4 separate regions of the Homo sapiens genome follow, and regions 1, 3 and 4 are each linked to region 2. The links are contacts of gene promoters, found by promoter capture Hi-C in blood cells and fetal thymus (Javierre and others, 2016). All regions are on one chromosome and are shown on one strand. The core of a region is centred on a gene start or on the middle of the fragment in contact, and the rest is flanking DNA. Distances in the headings are between cores, read along the strand shown.

Region 1 (2,927 bases), core at 411-2,910, 4.2 Mb after region 2:
GGCTGGAGTGCAGTAGCACAATGATCATGGCTCACTGCAGCCTCAACTTCCCAGGTTCAAGCAACCTCCCACCTCAGCCTCATGAGTAGCTGGGACTACAGGCATGCAACACCATGCCCGGTTGAATTTTTTTTTTTTTTTTTGTAGAGGTGAGGTCTCCCTATGTTGCCCAGGCTTAATGCTATTATTATTGAAAGTAAAATACATGTTAAGTATATGTTTCATATGTGCTTAGTACCTTATTTTAGTACATTTTTTAGAACTTAAAAGCTGTGAAATAAACCCGATTCAAATGGGTTGTCAGATTTTGTTGTTGAGAAGGATCAGTTCAGGTGTTATTTAAAATATTGATTCTAGTCCCTATTACATGATTCAGTGGGTCTGGAATGCAGACCAGGAATCTGCATTTTTAACAAGTCCCTTGGTGCTTGTGGTACAGATGAACCACTGACTTCAAGTTAATGTTTTAGAGGGTAAATAGTGGTGAGGACATTGCTCCTGGAGGCACCATGGAGCCCCCTGCAGCTGTTCTACACGGAGGCTGTGAACAGTGACATCCAGCACTTCCTTTGTAAACAGCAGGCTAGAGACTGAAAAATGCTCTCCCTGTAGAACTCTTTCCCTCCTCTCCCTGTCTGCTGTGGAGTGCTGCACAGAATTAGCTGCTGGTCAGTGGATGTCTCCATTTTTTAAAAGATCAAGCTTACAACTTCTCAATGCCTATTGGTCCAAAAACAGTGATGACTTTAGGTTTGTTTTCAGTTAAAGAAGTTAGATCATGTATTGTCATATAACTATTCAACTGGCTCGAGCGATCCGAATGTCAACCTAGGGGGCCACAAACTTCCAGGACATTGTGAAATTGTGTAAAAATCAGTGCACACATACACACACACACACACACATAGCAGTGCAGCTACATGTTTCTGGCCTAGAGGGTTGTTTTTAAAGATAGTAAAGTAAATCAATGAAAACGAAGGTATGTTATAATATCCAGAGTCATTTGCAGGGGGAAGGTGTCATGTCAAGTGGGCCCTAAAGCAATCAGCTCTGCCAAGTGAGTCATTCTCACCAGAAAGGAGAAAAAAATCGGTTTCTCTTCTTTTCTAAGGAAATTCCCTCAAAGTAACAGACTGCTTAACTTTCTCATGATCTTACTGGCTACAAAGTTTGGTCACCCGCAGCAACTCTGTACCTGTAAAGATTTAAAGAGTTGGCAGAAACTTCCCAAGGCCAGCTGCAGTTTCAGTTGCTGGATGCCCACTGAGATTAGTGTCTCGCCCCTGTCAGCTGAATGGATGTGACACTGCTTGCGCATAATGGCTGAAATTGCACTGCAACTATCAATCCTGGGCTGAAACCAACAGATTCTGAACATTGCCCATGCATTGGGTTTCATGCTTCATGCTTTCAACCTACAGGTAAGCTTGTCTCTGAGTCCAAAACCTAACTTCAGTATTGAGCTTGGTCTCTCTGATCCCATAGGGGTTTGTTAGTTTGTTGTTTTAAATTGGATCTCCTGATCTGTGTACTTGGTTGAGGTAAGCAGGTCTATGCAAACCTACCCCCAAAGGCCAAGGAAGCTGAGAGGCCAATGAAAGAAGCTGACAAGTCCAGTTTCTCAGAAAGAAACATTCAATAAGGGCTTACAAACAGAAGCCATGTCTCTGGCGGCCAGAGAGACAGTGGATCCCCGCAACTGCCCTCCAGAAAGCATCTTTTATATAGCAAGATTTTAGGGAAAGATGTGCAGCCAGTCATGCCTCAGGCCTTCTTGCAAAACTCATGACCCCTGGGGTGGTTAGATAAGCATCTCTATGAGAGTTTATCTATGCTACAGGAACACATTGGTCATCTTGCTATGCAACAGGCCGTTTTCCTACAATACTAAAATGAAGCTTTAGTATATAGTTATGTAAGCCTTCATTATTATGTAAACCTTTGTACATATTTTAACAAAAAATAAAGGAAGCTAAAATAATTAAGATGCCATATTAGAAACATTCAAATCAAATATTTAGGGTGTTAAGCAGCAAGGTAAGGAAATGATTTTTCTCAGAGTTAACATCTCAGACATAAAGAAATAAGAAGTAAACCACCCCAGGGGTTTGTTCATCAGTCATGGGTCAGGCTGCCACAATGTTTAAGTCTCATCCTGGCATTCTTAGCTTCTCACTTTATTTCTTACACAATCTTTTTCTTAGCTGGAATCCAAAGTAATGTTTCTATCTGAACATACAGTGTTTATTACACTAGGAACTAGTCATCATTTTGAAGACTTGGTTTTCTTGTTTACATTTTTAAAATTTGATCATCCAAACTCCTTTCTTAATAGAAGCTGGCTTATTTTCCCCTTATTTTGCCATAATAGGCAAACTAAAATTAGTGCTTTAATTTTGTTCAAAATTTGTGATGTTTTATATTTTTGTAATTCATCACTGACACACATTTTAAAATACACATCTCTGGATTTTCTGTCCTGTCTTTGCCAAGAACAGTGTGGCCTGGGCCTAGTCTCTTAACCTCTTTCCACCTCAGTTTCTTTGTCTAGTAAATAAGAGGTAGATAAAGGTTTCTACCACTACTTCCAGCTCTGAGACCCTGTGATTTTCTGATTTAAGCAGTCTCTGCTCTCTTTGGAAATGACCTGCTTCTCAACCCAACATTCATAACAATGTAAAAGGCATCTGCTCAACGTGCATGGCAGCAAGAATTACTTGTTTAGAAACATCTGGGTAATGGTAACAACCATCTGTCTTGTCCCTGCAATTGTCGAACAAAGAATTAAGCAAGCAAAACCACAAGAGAAGTGCCCTATTTTTATAGAACGATGCAATAGAACAGAATTTGTTTAGGTTTTATGAGAGTTGCATATGTATCCCACCTCTGTTATGGAACGGCAAGCCTCTTCACCTCTGCAGACTTCA
Region 2 (2,780 bases), core at 272-2,771:
AAATGCTTACGTATTCATACTTACAGCATATGTCCTTACAGCTCTTACGCTTCAGCAAGAATTTTCCAACATTGCTTTTTTAGCAAACTTTTTTTATTATAAAGCAACATATGCACATTACAGGTTATTTAGTGTAACTGACTCTACCAATCTTCTCTCCTCCCCTCCAATACTTCTAAGTCTTTGTTTGTTGTGCTTTACTTTAATCGTTAAACTTTTGGCAAGCGATGTAAATTTGAATTATTCACTTCCTGGGGTACTTTTAATTCTTAAAATAAGACACAATGGTTAAAGCTTAATCATTTATGTTACAGAGGACATTTACTGAACAACAATAATTATTGTGACATTATGGTCTAGTCTCCTAAAAATGACATTGAAGGAAAGGGAACCGGAATATTCCAGACACTACAGTAGGTCTGAAATCTCATATCAAGTCCTTAATAGGTCAAAACTTACAGCCAGTATCAATTACCTAAGGGACTTAACGAAAACGTTTATGAAATCTTCAATTGGATTACAAAAGCAAGCACATCGTTGCACTGTATCTAAGACACTCTACAGGGCAAAATCTCATGAAACAAGTATTTAAGTAGTCTAACTTTTTAATGTTGCTAGTGTGTTCCCTTCTGCCTCAGTTTATAGATTGAGTATGGAAATATTTAAGCAGGTTTGTTTTTGGTTTGTCAGTCACAGGACTTATTTAGACACTTAAATTTATGATTTGGTTACTACAGACATCAAACTCCTTTTGGAATACGGAGTATAGGGTAAGGTCACTCTAAAGCAATGATGAGAGTCCGAAGCAACAGCAACTGGATCTAGCATAAGACTAGTACAATTCGGTCTCTACCACGAAGAGAGATCTCTGTACTTGAGTGCCCAAAGGCAGAAACACACACATGCCATAAGCAATCCACATCTGTGAAGATGAGGGAGGGGTGGACTTCTTGGGATGGGCGGAAACACTTACAACTAGGGAGGAAGCCAGGCTGCGGCGGACCCAGCTGACCAAAGGAACTACAGAAGAGGACGAAGAAAGCGAGGGGGAAAGGGCGAGGGTTATTAACTGAGTTGATGGAATAAGGTAGTGGCTCCAAACTTCACGGCTCATTAGAGCTTGAAAAAAAAAAATCAGACGCCGGGTCGCACAGAAGTAATTAAACCAATCCCTCTGGCGGTGGGGCCCAGGCGTCGGTACTTTTTTTAATTTCCCACTTGAATCCAATGGGAATCCAAGTTTAAGGGCTAGAAGACCAGAGAGCGACAGACAGGGAGGAGGCGCGCCAGCCAGGGGCCGAGGCACATGCGGGCCGGCAACAGCGAAGGCTCCGCCTCTTCCTGTGGCTCGGAGGAGCCGCGGAACCCCCAACGCGCGACTCAGACGGAGACACCCACTCTTTCGGCGCTAGCGGCGGCTGGAAGGGACGAGAGCCTGGCCTAGGAGGAAGGAGGCGGCTCCAGGACCGCATTACCTGATCAGAGCCGCGACCCTCATGCTGGGCGCAGTGCGCGTGCGTGCGGCGAGCGCGGGCGGGAGCCAGGAGGTCGCGCCGCAGCTCGCGTGACGCACCGCGGGGCCTCGCCCGGGTGTTCGCTCCGCCGCCTGTCCGCGGATCGGCGCTGCGAGCCCCGCGGCTGCCTGCGGGACACCTGAGCGCGGAGGGTGCGGCACCTTGGCACCTTGACCCTGTGGCAGGGACATCTCGGCCCAGGAAAGAATGAGGTTTAGGCACGGCCTAACCACCTAAGTGAGGGCACTGAAGCTGCCGGGGGAAGGGCAAGGTCCGCGTTGCAGAGCCCAAGCCCAGTGGCGCAGGATTTGTTTTGGTAAGAGGGGATTTAGCGTCCCAATTGCTGCAAATTGACACAGTTGCGGACGTGCAAGCGCAGAAGAAATTTGTCCTTCCTCACCCCACAGAACAGAAACAACTGTACACTTCTGCTTTTTAACTTACATCTCCTCTGTCCTCCAAACCTGTGTGTCCAGATGTGAAACTCAGATCCCCAGGGGCTGTGGTAATTTTTAAATCTGGGGCTAGCCCCCCCCACCTCTAGGCCCTCTGTGGCTTTGGCTCTTGGTCAAGCTTGTGTATTTGACAAGGCCAGGCCAGGCTCTTCACCAAAGAGCAATGGCCTTGCAGAAAGAAAATCTAGCTTCTAAGTTTATTTGCCAAGTATGTATTGAGTGCCTTTCGTGTACCAGGCACTGTTTTAGACTCTGTGGATACAACCGTAAATAAAACAAAAACCCGGCATTCCGGGCATAGAGCTTAAATGGGGATGGAGAGAACAGACAATACATATCTTAAAGGTAAATAGTCTGTTGAAGAGTGAAAAGTGCTATTGGAAAGGGGCGGGGTGCGGTGGGGGAGAGTCAGGAGAGAGGTGGAGAGGCAAATTGCAGAATTAAATCGTGTCTATGTAGGCCTTATTGGTAAGATGAGAGTTGAGCCAATTTAAATAAGGAGAGTTCGCTATGTGTATGATTGGGGTGTGCTCCAGACAAGAAAAAAAAATCGAAGGCTCTAGGTGCGTTGTGTGTTTGTGGAAGATTAAGGCAGATCCGTGTTGCTGGAGCAGATTGAGCAAAGCAGAGAGTAGTGGAGAGCAGGTTAAGGTGATGGAGGGGAAGGATTATATAGGGTCTTGTAGGTAATTGCAGACTTTTGAAGGGTGTGACTTAAAATTTTAAAAGGATTGCAGTGTTGAGAATCCACCTATTAGGAAGCTGTTACAGTGTTCCAGTAGAGAGATGGCGGAGCCTAGAATCAACATGG
Region 3 (2,926 bases), core at 393-2,892, 3.1 Mb after region 2:
GCCTCCTAAGTAGCTGGGATTACAGGCATGCACCACCATGCCTGGCTAATCTTTGTATATTTAGTAGAGATGGGGATTCACCATGTTGATCAGGCTGGTCTCAAACTCTTGACCTCATGATCCGCCCGCCTCAGCCTCACAAAGTGGTGGGATTACAGGTGTGAGCCACCGTGCCTGGCCATTTTTTATACATTCTTATATGCATGTATATATAATTCCTTTTAAAATAATGGTTTCAAACTGTACTTAATGTTTCATAATCGACTTTTCTCATGCATATATTATGAACATTTTTCATGACAGCGAATACAATCTATTTTGTCATTTTAGTAGCTGCAGAGAGAGGCTTACACATCCTATGAAAGGTTGTGTAATGTAAATTTAAGAGAGCTGACTCAGACCAGACCGCCTAGATGCAGATATTAGCTCTGCATTGACTAGCTTTATGACCTGGTTAGCGAACCTCTCTGTTCCTCAGTTCCATCATCTGTGAAATGCTGACAGTAATTGTAGTACCTATCTGTTGGGAGGCTTAGATGAGTTAATATATGCAAGGAGTTAAGAACAGAGCCAGGCGTTCTATAAGTGCTATGTAGGTGGTGTTAGTGCTTTCTATAAAACACCATCATTTAATTGACCAAAGTCCCTTCATTCTGATTTTTTTTTTGTTTTTTTTTTTTGGATAATGTTGTGATGGATTCTCTTCTTCTTTCTTCTTCTTCTTCTTCTTCTTCTTCTTCTTCTTCTTCTTCTTCTTCTTCTTCTTCTTCTTCTTCTTCTTATTCTTCCTCTTCCTCTTCTTCTTCTTCCTCTTCTTCCTCTTGTTTTGATGGATTCTCTTCTTCTTCTTCTTCTTCTTCTTTTTCTTCTTCTTCCTTCTTCCTTCTTCCTCTTCCTCTTCCTCTTCTTCTTTTTTTTTGAGACAGAGTCTCACTCTGTCACCCAGGCTGGAGTGCAGTGGTGCCATCTCGGCTCACTGCAAGCTCCGCCTCCTGGGTTCATGCCATTCTCCTGCCTCAGTCTCCTGAGTAGCTGGGACTGCGGGCGCCCGCCACCACGCCTGGCTAATTTTTTGTATTTTTAGTAGAGATGGGGTTTCACCGTGTTAGCCAGGATGGTCTCGTCTCCTGACCTCGTGATCCACCTGCCTCGGCCTCCCAAAGTGCTGGGATTACAGGTGTGAGCCAGCGCGCCCGGCCAATAGATACACTTCTTCTTGGGGTGGGTCAGGGACATTTGTTTGCCTATTCCCTCAGATACCTTCCTAGAATTAAGATTGCTGTGCTAAAAGGCAAGTGCATTAAAAAAAATTTTTTTTTGATATTTGTTGCCAGACAAGCCAATTACATCATTCGTTGAACCAATTTCCAGAAACAGCGCGATAGTATTTTCTCATACTATCGCCAACACAAGTATAATCATACGTATAAACACTTGTTAGTCTGCTAAGTGGAAAATGAGGTTTTAATTTACATTTATTACTAGAGGGGTTGAACTTTTCATAATTTTGTCCATTCTGTTTCTTTTTTCAAATGGCTACTTATGGCCTCTGCCTATTTTTCCAATGAGTGTTACTTTTTTTTAATATAAAATAACTATACATTAAGCGTACTTGTATTAGTCCGTTTTCACACTGCTAATAAAGACATACCCGATACTGGAAAGGAAAAGAGGTTTAATTGGACTTACAGTTCCATGTGGCTGGGGAGGCCTCAGAGTCATGGCAGGAGGTGAAAGGTACTTCTTATACTTCTTACATGGTGGCGGCAAGAGAAAAATGAGGAAGAAGCAAAAGCAGAAAACCCTGATAAGTCCATCAGATCTCGAGAGACTTATTCACTGTCATGAGAATATCATGGGAAAGATGAGCCCCCATGATTCGATTACCTCCCCCTAGGTCCCTCCCACAACATGTGGAAATTCTGGGAGATACAATTCAAGTTGAGATTTGGGTGGGGACACACCCAAACCATATCAGTATTCTATCACGTTTTGCAAATCTTACATATAAAGCTGACTCATGAAACTTTAATATTGAAGTTTGAGTTAGGCATTATAGCTAGGTTGGGTATGAAAGAGATTACTTTTAAGGGGACTAGTGAACCTTGGTGAAGGGTATGTGGAAGTTCTTTCTATGATTCTTCCATTTTTTTCTCTTGTTTGAAATTATATCAAAATAAGAAGCTCCAACAACCCCCCACTCCACACACACAGCAAATTGATTTATGGGGTAATTGGTGCCCCCACTAACCACACAGCTACCTACCTATTTTTTTTTTCCATTATGTTCGTGGCTGTTGTAATAGAGAGACCCCACGGCCATGTCTGTGGGCAGCCTGGGAAAAGTCTACAAGCTACCCCTACTGAGATCAGCTACATCAAGCTCTGCTCTCCCCTGGCCAGAACCTGGGTCTGCTGAAATAATCATACCCTTTTGGTCTGCTATCATGTGCTCAGTATGCTGCTTGAAACGCTTAAGACCCTGTAGGCCTTCCTAGCCTCTTTGGTTAGGAAGTCCCCTCCTTCTCACTGGTCCCAGGAGGATAGGGGGTGGCAATGCAGCTTGCTTCTGTTTCCTCCATCCCTCATCTGTCTGTGCTGCTTATGCAAAGGCCTACTCACTTAGAGGAGAAAGACTCCACTCTTAGTTCCATCTCTGCAGCTAGAAAGTTAGTCCTTAGGCAGACTGACATACCTGCAGAAACAACCCCCCAACTCTTTATGGCTTAATTCAATAAAAATTTGTGCTACCTATCCAACATGAGCTGTGGAGGATTGGGGTCAAGAAGCATGGGGTTAGTGATGATTCTATGATGGCTGTCCTCCACATACTTACCCAGGGATTCAGTCTAGCAGAGGCTCTGCCACCCATCATGTTACCAGCTACCACAGCAAAGGAAGAGACAAGCATAGAGAAATTATACTC
Region 4 (2,958 bases), core at 399-2,898, 3.2 Mb after region 2:
ACAATTAAAACTGAATGTACACACACCCTCGGACCCAGCAATTCCATTCCTATGTACATGTCCAACAAAAATGCATATATATTTAATAGAGATTTATACTAGATTGTTCAACACAATGGTATTCATAGCCGTAAATGGTGACTATCCGAATGCCTTTCAACCCGGTGGTGTCTTTGTACAACAGGATTCTGTATAGCAATGAAAATGAATGATTTACAATTACACACAACACTCTGGATGTATTTCACAAATATTACATTAAGAAAAAGATGCCAGACTCAAGAGAATACACATTGTCCAATTCCACTTATATAAAACAAAAAAAGGGCCCCAAACAAGGTCTTGCTCTGTCACCCAGGGTGGAGTACAGTGGCATAATCACAGCTCACTGCAGCCTCAAATTCCCAGGCTGAAGGATCTTCCTACCTCAGCCTTCTGAGTAGCTGGGACTATAGGAGCATGCTATCACACCCACCTAATATTTAAAAAAAAACTTTTTGTACAGATGGGATCTCCCTGTATAGCCCAGGCTGGTCTCAAACTCCTGCACTCAAGTGATCCTCCTGCCTCAGCCTCCCAAAGTGCTGGGATTACAGGCATCAGTCACTGCGCCCAGTGTAAAAAATGGCCAAAATTAATTGTGGTAGATTGATTGTACTAGCAGCTCTAACTCTTCATCTCTTAAAATCCATGCCCTTTGCCATATGACTGCAGCTCCTTTCACTGAAGATGTGGAGTGTATTTCCCCAGCAGGGTCAGGACTATGGTGAGGCAATGAAGGCAACTGCCCCAGCCTTAAAATTAAGGAGGCACCAAAATCCTCAGTAATCAAGAAAAATAATATTGAATGCAATGTTTTTGAAAAATCAAAATTAATGCAAGAAAATCCATTGTGAACAAAATTTCGATAAAGACAGGAGCTGACCCTGCACTTGCATAACTCAATTTACTAGCCTCACTCTACTAGCCTCACTCTAATCCTGGCTCTGTCAGATCCTATCTTGAATAAAGAGGATGCCTGCATATTTCTGTTTGTTCTCTTATTCTCTGCTATCACCATGGCCATGCCTGGCTAGCCTGCTGGAGGCGAGCTGTCCCCCAACCCCCAAGGTGCAAGAGAAAGTCTGTGGGGGATCAGTCACAGTGGTGGGAAAAATTATAGGGAAAGGATGCAAACCTTCTGAAAGGTTGGAAGCTCCTGCAGAGCCCCAGGAGAGAATAGCTGAAAGCAGCTGTTCTATAACCCTGAGGCAGAGGGCAAGGAGTAAGTACAAAGGAGTGTAGGGGAATTTATCTTAAACAGGCTTGTTTACTTATGTTGACCAGGAACTGACCTTTGATCATCCACACACCTGACTTTCTCTGGAAGGAGAACAATAAATGTTAATTACCTACAGGTTGTGTTGGCTCCAGGTTTTTGGCATTGTGCCTGAGCTGAATAAAAGCAAGCAGCTCCAGCTTCTCCAGGCTGCTGTCTGGCCGTTAGAGCCAGCCAGTCACCTAGCTGCTTTTATACTGCATACCTGTGTCTGAGTACTCATTTCATCCATTGGCCAAGGCCTGTGGGACAGACCTGGCAAGAGCCCAGCCAAGATGAACCAACTTGCCTACACAACCACCCCCGTGAGTGAATGATAAAATATTGAAGTTTTGTGATTGTTTGTTCTGCAGCAAGAGCCAACCGATGCACTGAACTATGTAGTTAAGGGTCAGGATAGAGGTTGCTTTTGGGAGATGAGGCATGAAGTGGGTTCTGAGGTGCTGCTGAGTTCTGTTTCTTAACCTGGGTGCTAATTACACAGTTGTATTCAGTTTGTGAAAATTGACTTGTATGTTTATGACCTGTACAACTTTCTATATTTTTATATTTGAAAACATTTTAAAGGGTAGGTGACAAGGCTCTTACTATTTTTTTCAAGGACAACTTACTGGGATAAGATGTATAAAATAAAAGTTACAAGCACCAGAGACTGAAATCAAAATCCAGAATAAATTGAACTTGAACTAATATTCAGAAAAATCTATGAAAATACCTATTTTGGACTCTATCCACAATTATTTATGTGAAACCACTTAGAATTACTTAGACCATTATTTTTAAATTCTGTTAGGCATGACACAATCACAACATAAGAATATTCTCTGAACCAGTATTTCATTCGGTTTGGGTTTTTGCTGAATTCATCTTTACATGTGGCTTTGCATGGCCTCATTTCAATAAAAATGAGACCAATGTAAATTATTATGATGGCTATTTTTCGACCATATAATACTGCTAATGTCAGTAGGCTTTTCTTTTCTTTTTTTTTAATGGAGTCTCCCTCTGTCGCCCAGGCTGGAGTGCAATGGCAAGATCTCAGCTTACTGCAACCTCTGCCTCCCAGGTTCAAGCCATTCTCCTGCCTCAGCCTCCCGAGTAGCTGGGATTACAGGCGCCACCACCACGCCTGGCTAATTTTTGTATTTTTAGTAGAGACAGGATTTCACCATGTTGGCCAGGCTGGTTTTGAACTCCTGACCTCAGGTGATCCACCCGCCTTGGCCTCCCAAAGTGCTAGAATTACAGGCGTGAGCCACTTTGCCTGGCTGGCTTGGCTTTTCTATGCACAGAGATTAGATATAACTATCATTCAGCATCAATCCAGGAGCAACTTTATCCATCCATCCAGTCTGATTCAATCATTATCTCATACCTGATGGGAAGAAGCTGGCATCTAATCAGAACTGTGATTTCCTTGCTGTGGATTCCTTTTTCTAGCTGGCTAGAATTGACTCTGAAGTGGGTGGGAAGAGCCTGTTATCAATTTGATGTCAAAGAGAAAGTCGTTCTGTTTTAAGAATTGAGATAAAAAGGGGAAAATACATAGCTAAATAATGGCATTTGTGATGTCTTCCTCCATATCCCAAAAGAATAACTTCTAGTTGCTTTTCAGAAAGACAGGCAAACCTGTACGAGTT

Evidence for each region. The method cuts DNA at HindIII sites, captures the fragments that hold promoters and counts their contacts. A CHiCAGO score of 5 or more calls a contact.
Region 1: a contact is called between a fragment that was not itself captured here and the fragment with the promoter of DPH6 in region 2, in 1 of 17 cell types (activated CD4 T cells). The highest score is 5.1, in activated CD4 T cells.
Region 3: a contact is called between a fragment that was not itself captured here and the fragment with the promoter of DPH6 in region 2, in 2 of 17 cell types (total B cells and naive B cells). The highest score is 10.3, in total B cells.
Region 4: a fragment that was not itself captured here is called in contact with the fragment with the promoter of DPH6 in region 2 in 3 of 17 cell types (activated CD4 T cells, total CD4 T cells and naive CD8 T cells); the score reaches 6.0 in activated CD4 T cells.

The regions. Positions count from the first base shown.
Region 1 is chr15:39,787,194-39,790,120 of GRCh38, forward strand. No RefSeq gene overlaps it. Among named protein-coding and RNA genes, the nearest start is that of FSIP1, 5.8 kb to the left of the region's middle. The HindIII fragment of the contact is 472 bases long and covers 1,425-1,896 here.
Region 2 is chr15:35,544,644-35,547,423 of GRCh38, forward strand. It overlaps DPH6 (diphthamine biosynthesis 6), which reads right to left and starts at 1,522. Exons shown (of 9, transcript NM_080650.4): 1 at 1,476-1,522. The coding sequence starts at 1,498. DPH6-DT (DPH6 divergent transcript) reads left to right here and starts at 1,552. Exons shown (of 3, transcript NR_038251.1): 1 at 1,552-1,830. RefSeq lists an enhancer at 523-1,457 and silencers at 1,505-1,644, 1,945-1,994. The HindIII fragment of the contact is 1,793 bases long and covers 293-2,085 here.
Region 3 is chr15:38,680,546-38,683,471 of GRCh38, forward strand. The region is part of intron 1 of LOC105370775 (a long non-coding RNA gene); the gene reads left to right. Among named protein-coding and RNA genes, the nearest start is that of LINC02694, 15 kb to the right of the region's middle. The HindIII fragment of the contact is 4,614 bases long and covers 1-2,926 here.
Region 4 is chr15:38,701,302-38,704,259 of GRCh38, forward strand. No RefSeq gene overlaps it. Among named protein-coding and RNA genes, the nearest start is that of LINC02694, 6.2 kb to the left of the region's middle. The HindIII fragment of the contact is 6,394 bases long and covers 1-2,958 here.